2 separate regions of the Homo sapiens genome follow, and region 2 is linked to region 1. The links are contacts of gene promoters, found by promoter capture Hi-C in human tissues and cell types (Jung and others, 2019). All regions are on one chromosome and are shown on one strand. Each heading gives the region's core, a stretch centred on a gene start or on the middle of the fragment in contact. The rest is flanking DNA. Distances are from core to core; before and after follow the strand shown.

What was found. Contacts are between HindIII fragments. The study calls those that stand out against the background at their distance.
Region 2: a contact is called between a fragment that was not itself captured here and the fragment with the promoter of MACROD1 in region 1, in 1 of the 25 tissues and cell types used here (spleen).

The regions. Positions count from the first base shown.
Region 1 is chr11:64,163,780-64,168,971 of GRCh38, reverse strand. It overlaps MACROD1 (mono-ADP ribosylhydrolase 1), which reads left to right and starts at 2,859. Exons shown (of 11, transcript NM_014067.4): 1 at 2,859-3,275. The coding sequence starts at 2,978. It overlaps LOC105369339 (a long non-coding RNA gene), which reads right to left and starts at 2,734. Exons shown (of 3, transcript XR_950187.3): 1 at 2,383-2,734. RefSeq lists silencers at 2,473-2,732, 2,993-3,072, 3,203-3,302 and an enhancer at 2,840-3,340. The HindIII fragment of the contact is 20,905 bases long and covers 1-5,192 here.
Region 2 is chr11:63,760,558-63,765,749 of GRCh38, reverse strand. It overlaps ZFTA (zinc finger translocation associated), which reads left to right. Exons shown (of 5, transcript NM_001144936.2): 3 at 496-882; 4 at 1,152-1,712; 5 at 1,881-5,192. The coding sequence ends at 2,332. Among named protein-coding and RNA genes, the nearest start is that of ZFTA, 5.6 kb to the left of the region's middle. RefSeq lists an enhancer at 3,376-4,135. The HindIII fragment of the contact is 7,859 bases long and covers 1-5,192 here.

The sequences.
Region 1 (5,192 bases), core at 1,610-4,109:
CTAAAGTGCTGGGATTACACGCGTGAGCCACTGCACCCGGCCTGAACGCCAAGACTTTCTTATGGCTGGGGACCCTGCCTCTACCTCATCATCCTCACTAGACATTGCCAGGAAGGTTGCACAGGGCAGAATAATGGCCCTCCAAAGACTCCACATCCTAAATCCTAGAGCCTGTAAATATGTTACATTACACGGCAAAGGGGAATGAAGGCTGCAAATCAGCTAAGTAGAGAAATTGTCACAGATTATCTAGGTGGGCTCCATGTAATCACAAGTGTCCCTGAAGATGGAAGAGAGAGGCAGAAGGAGAGTATCAGAGGGAAATGCCACTACAGGAGAATGCTCAGATGCAACCGCGCTGGCTTTGAACATGGAGGAACAGGTCTCAAGCCAAGGAATGTGAGTGGTCTCTGGGAATCAGAAAAGGCAATGATACAGGCTGTCTGCTAGGGCTTCCAGAAAGGAACATGGCCTCGTGTTCCCCTTGATTTTAACCCAGTGATGCCCACATCAGACTTCTGTCCTACAGAACTTTAAGATACTAAATGTGTCGTTGAAGCCAGTGAATTTGCGGTAATGGTACAGCAGCAATGGAGAAGTAATATACTGCATCACCCACATGCCTCATTTCACCAATCAGTGACACCTGCATAACCATTTTCCAGACTGCAGATGGGAACCAAACAGACCTGGACCCAAGTCGGGGCTGGGATCCTGACCTGACCTTGGGCCAATCATCTCTCTGCCTGGAGGGGGTGAGAGCTGAGGATATAACGGGCTAATGGAGGTAGTGGGAATGGACATAGAGGGCTTAGCTCAGTACAGCTGGGACTTCGTGCATGTAGGTGTTGGCTGTCCTGGTTGCAGTCAGCAAGGTCCTTCCTTTACTCTGAGTTACTGGAGGGGCCACAACTGGTGAGGTGACCTGGAGCCTGACCCCTACATCCTGAACCGTGCCTTGCTGATGTTTTCAGGAGAGGGTGCAGGCCTTGCTGGTGGTCCTGGAATGCTGGGGGCCGTGGGCTCTTCCTTCCTGGCCTCTGGCTCCCCTTTGCCCTCACTCCCAGTACTGATGACTGCCTACCCTGCTGCTGGCAAGTCTATGCTGATCCTCTCTTGGGCAGATTTAATGTCTGGAGTCCAAGGGTGAGCCCGTGTCACCATCCCAGTGGTTCCATCTGCATCCATGGCAGGTCAGGGATCCTCGTACGGCCATCCATGGTTATTGCCACACTCAGAGTCAGAGGCCTGGAGCACAGGAGCAGGTTTGCAACCAGCCAGACTCTCTTATTCCTAGCTGACAGCTCAAGAAGTTTGAGTCTTAAGGGGCTAGGGTACCCTAGGGCAGCAACACTAGTACTAGAACCTTCTCTGAAACCCTGGCTCGTTCCTCCCTCGTATTAAAATATATTCATTATTATTATTACTTTTGAGATAGGGTCTCACTGTGTCGTCCAGGCTGTAGTGCAGTGGTGCCATCATGGCTCTCTGTAGCCTTGAACCCTTGGGCTCAAGTGTTTGCCTGCCTCAGCCTCTGGAGTAGCTGGGACTAGAGGTGAGTGTCTACCACCATACCAGGGTAATTTTTTTGTGTGGGGGCGGGTAGAGATGAGGGGGTCTCACTATATTGCCCAGGCTGGTCTTGAACTCCTGGCCTCTAATAATCCTCTTGCCTCAGCCTCCCAAAGTGCTGGGATTACAGGTGTGAGCACTTATTCATTATTCATTATTACATTCATTATATTATTATAATGGCCCGGCCTGTATTCATTATATTTATCATAAAGTAATATTAATAGTACATAAAAATATATAAAAGTACTTAAAAATCCATCCTCGTGTTTTTTGTTTTGTTTTCTTTGAGACAGAGTCTCGTTCTGTCACCCAGGCTGGAGTGCAATGGCACGATCTCGGCTCACCGCAACCTCCGCCTTCCGGGTTCAAGTGATTCTCCTGCCTCAGCCTCCCGAGTAGCTGTAATTAACAGGCATGCACCACCACGCCTGCATAATTTTTGTATTTTTAGTAGAGACGGGGTTTCGCCATGTTGGCCAGGCAGGCCTCGAACTCCTGACCTCGTGATCCACCCAACTCGGCCTACCAAAGTGCTGGGATTACAGGCGTGAGCCACCGCGCCCGGCCGGTTTTTGTTTAAAAAAGAAAAGAAAAAAAAAAAAAAACACACAGACACACACAAAAACATCACCCCAATCCTTCCACCCTTGAACGCCACTTGAAGCCTAAGTTTCCTGCCTCCAAATTCCACTATTTCCACCCTCGACTCTCCTCCCCAGCTGTCCTAGATTCTGCTCCAGCTGAGCCTTGGCCCCGGGGCTGTTAGAAGGCAGAGGCTCTGGGGAGAAGTCCCCAAACCGGATTTACCCGTTCGTCGCACCTGTCCCTAGGAGGGCAGGCTGGGGTGTGGAGGCGGTGCCCTGCTGACCCGCGGGGAGAGAAGCCCGGGTCTCCCAGGCTGCAAAACGCTCGGCACTGCGGAAGCCGCGCCAGGCTCTCCCAGCTCGATACGCAGCGGCCGGCGCGCCTGCTCCGCCGCGGGGCCGAGCGGCAGAGGGGCCCGGGGCTGCGTGGAAGGCCCGGGGGCTTCAGCCCGTGCCGGGGAAGCCGACGCTCAGCCAACCAGAAAGTTAGAGGCGGCCGAGGTCTCGCGGAGGGGAGGCGCCTGGCGGCCACGGGAGAAGTCGAAGGGCTCAGGCGGGGCTCCATCCGCGACACTGGGAGCCCGGGCGGGCGCGCACGTGTGTATACGAGTGCGTGGGCCCATCCGGCGGCCCGGACTACAAGTTCCAGGGTGCCCAGCGGCGCTCCCGGGTTTTCTGGCCGCGCCTCCCGCTGGCTCCGAGCAGGTCGCCGCTGGCTGGCAGTCGCCACCCGGTCCCAGAGTAAATAAGGGAGAGACACTCCCGAGCGCCGTAAATAGAGTCCAAGTGGGCGGAGAGCCGTCCCGCGCCGCCCGCTCATGTCTCTACAGAGCCGACTGTCCGGCCGCCTGGCACAGCTGCGCGCGGCGGGGCAGCTGCTCGTCCCCCCGCGCCCCCGGCCCGGACACTTGGCGGGTGCCACGAGGACCCGCAGCAGCACGTGCGGTCCCCCGGCGTTCCTGGGCGTGTTCGGCCGCCGTGCGCGGACCTCGGCGGGAGTTGGGGCGTGGGGGGCGGCGGCGGTGGGGCGGACAGCCGGGGTGCGCACTTGGGCCCCCCTGGCCATGGCGGCGAAGGTGGACCTGAGCACCTCCACCGACTGGAAGGAGGCGAAATGTAAGTGTAAGCACGAGGGGGCGCGAGGGAGAGGGCGGCCTCACGTGGAGCTTCCCGGCTGGGCGGCCCCCAACGAGCGAGCAGCCCCTTCCACCCGAGAGACCTGGGGAAGTTGAGGCCCCATCTGCCCTGGAACGGACCCCTCCTCCCCATTGACAGCCCCCCCCGCCCCCGCGCGTGTTCCCAGCCCCACAGAACAATTCACTCCAGACCAGGTCCAAGTGTCCACGCAGGGGGCAGCGTGAGGAAGGCGGCCTTCCTTACCCCATTGGAATGGGTCACAGGGCACCCCAGAGATTGTGCAGGACCTACCAACTTCCTTCCCTGTGCAGGAGGGAAACTGAGGCCGAGTGCCACAGCTGGCTTCCCCAAGGTCACTCGGAGCTGGTGGCAAAGTGGAGGTTATGATCCCGGACTCTCCAAACTTTGCACAGTGTGGTTCTTAAGTGTTCGGGAATGGGGCTGAGGGAACAGCTCCGGGGCTGGCGTCCCACCTGGTGGGGCACGTAACCTCACAGAGTGACCTTCCTGGGCTGGCCTGTCCTGCCTCCACCCCACCCCAAGCCCGCACTCTGATGCCTTCCTGGGCACGTGGTCTGGCGCCCTTTTCCCCTTCTCGCTGGCCTCTGGCCACTTGTGAGCAGTTTGCTCATGCCAGGAACAGAGGTTAGAGGAGCAGGGCAGAGGTGGGGTCTTGTCCCTGTGACAACTGATGACACCCTTCAAGAATCACACCACTTCCTCTTGCTCCTGGAGGGGGCATGAGTCTGGGGCCTGGGGAGAGAGAGAACCCAAGCTGCCGCTACTGAGCCCCAAATAGCCCTGCCGGGCACCCAGCTGCCCCTGCCTTTCAGGGCCTGCCTCCTGGGATCCTGTGACTCTTCCCGGCTGGATCCCCTTTCAAAAGTGCAGGGAAGTGGCTAATTGGCTGGGCCTCCGTGGTGGAGTAGGTGTGGCCTCTGGGCTGGGCAGGCAGGATGGGGGGGTCCTGCGGTGTTAGGGGTGAAGAGAAGATGGCTTTCTCGGGACCAGAGGTGGAAATCAAAATGATTTACTCCTGACATGAATTGTGTGGCCTGCGCCAGGATCTAAAAGTGACGGCAGAAAGCACCGACTTTAGCCCGTGAGCAGATGGAGAACTTGTCAGGCACTTGGCCCTTGCCCCAGAACAGCAGGAGGAGTTTGGGGCTGGCAGAGACCCCTGGAGGGGGAGCCACTGTCCCCACAGAGACCCCTGCTCCCCTGAGCACTCTCTCAGAGGACAACAACCCAGGAGGGTGGGAAAGAGCTACGGAGACAAGGTGCCCAGGCACCTGCTCGAGGGCTGCCGCTGTTTTTAGGATCCAGCCCCCACAGCCCCACTCCTTGGTGCCAGGAAAGCAACCGGACCTTGTGATGGGGCTGGGGTTCCTGGGCTGCTGTGTTGTCACTGGGGTCTCCCTTTTGCTTCGAGGTGGGATTTCCAATCATGCAGCAAACTTTTATTGAACGCCCCCTAGGTGGTCAGGCTGGGGACTCAGACATGTGTCAGATAGGCAAGGGCCCTGCCCTCATGGAGCTTGTAATCTGGTGTGAGGATTACAAAGCATCTATTGTAAAGAATGTGTTCTAGCAGCTGAGACAAGGCCCGGTAACCTCAGTGCTGTGAAGACACCATAGCAGATGGGGCCACCTGAGCTGGGGAGATCAGAGGAGGCGTCTCAGGGGTGGTGGCCTGAGAAGAGGCATCCAGCTGGGTAATGATATTCCAGACCCGTTATTGAGTGACAGTGGGCCAGGCCCAAGGAGTGGGGCTGGTCTGGGGCTCTGCCTGCTACTGAAGCCACAGTTAGAGGGACGCTTTCGGGGGTGAGATGTGGAGATCCCCCAATAGTTATCTATTTCTGTGTAACAAAACACCCCGAACCTTAGTGGCGT
Region 2 (5,192 bases), core at 827-3,326, 400 kb after region 1:
GGGCCAGCTGCTCTGCCAAGGAGCTGGTGTTCTTGAGCAAGGCACTGCTCCTCCTCTGGGTGGGGTCTGTTTATTGCCCTTATTATACAAAGGTGGGGGAAGGACAGTGGGGTGAGAGGGTCTCCGATGTCCATGACAGCTTGTACATTCTGTGGTTTTTGAAGTATCAAGGAGAGAAGTTGGGTGACAGGCAGTGGAAAGGCTTGGAGCAGGGAGGCCTGGCTGGGGTGGGTGAGGGAAGGGGAGGGTGCTGGAGAGGTGTGGCTGACGGTGAAGGCCAGGGACAGGGCTAGATTCCAGTCTGGGGGAGGTGTGGGTGGTGCTTGAAATGCTAGCAGAGGAGGGTTTAGGGAGTTAGGATTTCAGGAGAGAGGAAGAGAAGGGCAAAGGTTAGGCCTGGGGCCCAAGTGAGTGAGAGGCTTGTGGGAGACCTGGCTGTAGTGGGTATGCTCCCGTGGGGCCAGCGTCTCAGTTCCTTCCCTCCAACCCTTTCAGGCAAAGCCCCAGCTGGTGGGGGCTGCCGGCGCCAGCGGCGAGGGGGCCCAGTGGCACCCCGGGCTCGGCGTCTGCGCCTCTCAGCCTCCCGGAGGGCCGGGGGCAGCAGGGGGCTGGGGGCCCGGCGCCTGGAGAGGAGGCTGAAGGAGTCCCTGCAGAACTGGTTCCGGGCCGAGTGTCTCATGGACTATGACCCGCGGGGGAACCGGCTGGTGTGCATGGCCTGTGGCCGGGCACTGCCCAGCCTGCACCTGGACGACATCCGTGCCCACGTGCTGGAGGTGCACCCTGGCTCCCTGGGGCTCAGCGGCCCCCAGCGCAGTGCCCTGCTGCAGGCCTGGGGGGGCCAGCCCGAGGCGCTGTCTGAGCTCACCCAGTCCCCACCAGGTGCGAGGCCCATCCCAGGCTGAGACCCCCTCATACTGGGGCTCTGAAGTGGGGTCTGTGGCCAAAACTGGGAGGCAGGGACTTAGGGCTGAGGGCTGAAGGCCAGGAGCTGGTGCTCCACACACATACTTTCCCCCTGCCCCCAGACAGAGACAGACTGGGGCCTCTAGCTTGGGGCTGGGGTGAGGAGCCAGGATGGACCCCTCTGAGTGGGCAAGGGCAACCCAGCCAGCAGGCTGAGCCCCTCTCCCTCACCCCTTCCCCAACAGGCGATGACCTCGCCCCCCAGGACCTGACCGGAAAGAGCCGGGACTCGGCCTCCGCTGCTGGAGCCCCCTCCTCTCAGGATCTCAGCCCCCCAGACGTAAAGGAAGAGGCTGGCTGGGTCCCTGAGAGGCCCGGGCCCGCAGAGGAGGAGGAGGAGCTGGAGGAGGGCGAGGGCGAGAGGGCGGGGGTCCCGGGCCGGTCGCCGCGGGGCCGCGCCCACCGCCGCCACCCCCAGGAGCGCTGGCGGCTGGAGTACCTCATGGAGTTGGACGGCGGCCGGCGCGGCCTGGTGTGCGGGGTGTGCGGGGGCGCGCTGGCCTCGCTCAAGATGAGCACCATCGAGCGCCACATCCGCCGGCGCCACCCGGGCTCCACGCGCCTCGGCGGGCCTGTCCAGGCCCTCATCGCCCGGGAGTGGAGCGAGAAGGCCGCCCACCTGCTGGCCCTGGGGCCGCCCCGCCCCGAGTCCCCCCAGGGCCCCATCCCCCCCGGCACTGCCGCAGCCTCCGACGAGGGGGGAGGGGACGAGGAGGAGGAGCCAGAGGAGGAGGAGGAGGAGTGGGGTGAGCGGTGGGGCCAGAGCAGGCGGAGAGGGAGAGCCGGGCAGTTGCTGGGGCAGAAGGGACTGGAGGATGGGATAGAAGGGCAAAGATGGGGTGACTGGAGATGAGACGCGGGGCCCAGCCCGCTGCCCCCCGCCGTCGCCAATGCGGTCCTTTGTCCCTCCTTAGGCGACGTTCCGCTGTCCCCTGGAGCTCCCTTGGAGCGGCCCGCCGAAGAAGAGGAGGACGAAGAGGACGGCCAGGAGCCTGGGGGACTCGCCTTGCCGCCGCCGCCTCCTCCCCCGCCTCCGCCCCCGCCCCGCAGCCGGGAGCAGCGGCGGAACTACCAGCCGCGGTGGCGGGGCGAGTACCTGATGGACTACGACGGCAGCCGGCGCGGCCTGGTGTGTATGGTGTGCGGGGGCGCGCTGGCCACGCTCAAGGTGAGCACCATCAAGCGCCACATCCTGCAGGTGCACCCCTTCTCCATGGACTTCACGCCTGAGGAGCGCCAGACTATCCTGGAGGCCTACGAGGAGGCGGCGCTGCGCTGCTACGGCCACGAGGGCTTCGGGCCGCCCGCCCCGGCGCCGCGTGACGGCGGCGCGGACCTCAAGTCTGGCGCTGTGTGTCGGGCGTAGCGGCCTAGCGGGCCCCCGGGTCAGGTCGGGTCGGGTCGGATCGGCCCCGCCCCGCCCTGTGCTCGCCCGGCCCTTCGGCTGGGAGACCCTCGCGTCCGGTGTTAGCGCTTCCCGCGGCCGCGCCCCCCGCTGGCCGGGCCGGGCGGAGACGGGGGATCGGGTGGGGCCACCGGCGTCTGCGCGGTGCCACTTGGGTCCCTGAGCCAGTCGGTGCGCTGCGGGAAGCGCACTCTCCCATCGGCCCGGAGCCCTGCCCTCCCCGCGCAGGGCCCACGTTTTCCGAGAATCCTCAGTGGCCTCCACGTGTTAGCGCCGAGCGCTCCCGGCCGCACCCCGCGAGGGGGTTCTCCGCAGGCCGGGACTGGGGGCGCCGTCAGTCAGTATTAGGGCCGAAGGGGGGCCGTGCGGGCTCTGGCTCTGGCCCTGGCTGGGGGCCCAGTTCCCTGCAGCCTTGCACGCTGGCAGGCACGGCTCCCGGCTTGGGGGCTGCTGGCTGCCCTTCCCTAATTGGGATTCTCGGCCTCTCGGAGGCCCCGGCTGCGGACTGGGGCTTCCAGCGGGAGGCTGGGCCGCAGGGCTCGGGAGCCTTCCCGGGGTGGGAAGGCGCGTTGGACCGAGGGCGGGGCTACGCGCCCGGGGCCCGGGCTGGACCAGCTGCGCTTACCTCCCCGGCAGGCTCAGTGAGAACCGTGCGCCCGGCGGCCCCACTCTCCTCCCAGGCCGCTGCCACGCCCTCCAGGAAAGCTCTTGTAAAGGGATTAGCACTTTTTTCCTTTGCTCCTCTTGCCCCGAGGGTCTCTGCTTACCCCTAAACCAAGTCCGTGGGAGCCCGGGGCACAGGCGGTCCCGGCAGTCAGCCTTCGATTCCCGCCCCATCCCCATCCCCCTTTGTCCGCGGTGGATGCGGCGTCCGTTCTCAACCCGCAGGGCCTGGGGCCGGGCCTCGGCCTCTTTTCCCCGTGGCAGCCGCAGGCCCTGTGTGGCAGGGATGGGGCCCCGCGATCTCCCAGGCAGGTCCGAGAGGGATGTGTAGATTCATTCTCCTGTGGAGAACAGGTGGCCCCGAGATCAGGCCCTTTTTTGCTCTTTGTATTTTATTTTGAAACTGTATTTAATGCTTTTATATGAAAGGGGGAGGGGCGGGGACAGAGCTGACCCAGTCACCCTTATGTGCAAATGTCTTATTTATTATGCGTGTATCAGAGATAAGCTGTGAGGTGGTGGAGGGAGGACCTGAAGGAAGGAGGAGCGAGGGCAGAGGCGGGGACGGGAGGACCCCAACTAGCTGTGCTGATGTTAATCCCGCTGGGAGACTCCGGGCCCTACTGTCTGCTCTTCACAAAGCCAGGCTGCTGCAGGAACAGTTCCCGCGGTCCTAAAGCCGGGGCGGGGAGGCTAGTGGGTGGAACTTGAGGGTTGGGTCTGGAGGAAGAGATGCCTGGGCAGCGTGGTCCAGCCCCTGCCTCGGGGTGGAAAGGCAGAGAGCAAAGAGGAGGCCCCTCTTATTCCGGACCCCCAGGCCAGAGCCCAGGAGTGGGAAAGCAGAGGGCAAAGAGGAGGCCCCTCCTCTCATCCCTGACCCCCAGGCCAGAGCCTAAGGTTCAAGTGCCTCAGGCCCAGTCCCCTTGACGCTTCCTGTTTGGGAGTTGGATTTTATACCACGGATTTTATAGCATTTTTATATAATTGAGGATTGTCAGAATTGGAAAGGGCCCTGGAGATCACTAGTACTACCCTCCTCACCTTCACAGATAGGTAAATTGGAGCCCAGGAACCGAGATGATCACACAGCCAGGTAGGGACAGTACAAGAACTAGAATGAAAATCCTAGCTCCTGACTCAGTGTTCTTTGCACGATGCCACACTGCTTCCCAATTCGCTGGTCAGTTATTAAAATTTGTCAGGCCTGCCGAAGGATTGACATGCTGGGCAATGCAGGCCACCACGGTGGATCTGTGACTCCTGAAGGTGGCAAAGCCCTGCACACTGCCTTGGGATGAGCACACTGAGCTCTGCAGGGCCTCAGCTGGAAGGCGCCATCCAATCGTCCTTCCCCTCCCCAGCAGAACTCCAGAGGTGGGGCGGCTGCCGCAGGGCCCAAGGCTGCCTCGGCAGGGGGCTTTGTGCTTTTTGTTGTGGAGGCCACCAGGGATTCAGGAAGATCCTGAATGGGTTGTCAATTGACTGAAAAGTAAATTCCCAGTGAGTTTGAACCTCCACGGTTTTTGAGACAGTATTAAAAGCTTGAGAACGGAGATTATGGATGGCACCAGGCTGGGCACTGCCATTCTTTTACTTTCCTTCATGCATTTTTTCGGATCCAGAGTATTAACACCACTTTTTTTACTCTGCCCATTCAAAAACAGTAGGCAAATTGGGGGAACCAATTTATAATCACTCAAGCCCACTGCCAAAGTTCGGATAAGCCAGGGCAGAGGGGTTAGATTCCCCCCCCTCCGTAGGCAGAGAGAGGCCTCAGGAGAGTGGACATCTTTACTGAGACAGCCCCAAACACACCAGTGGCTCTCAAAGTGTGTCCCTGAGACCAGCAGCATCACCTTAGGAATCTGCTAGAAATAAAAATTCTTGGGCCATACCCCAGGGTTACTGAATCAGAAACTTGGTTGGGGCCTAGCAGTGTTTTCATGAGCCCTCCATTGATCTTGATGCAGCTGAAGTGCCGGGCACCAGTGAAAGGGAAGGGCTGCGGTAGTGATTCCATTGATTCCTGCTTTGATGGAAGTTATGGCCTCACAGGTTAGACGTTGCAAGTTGAGTTGGCCCTCTTGCCTAGGTGTGCCTCCTTGCCTTGGGATTCTGACATGAACAGGTGAAGTCTCTTCATGATTTTTTTTGTTGT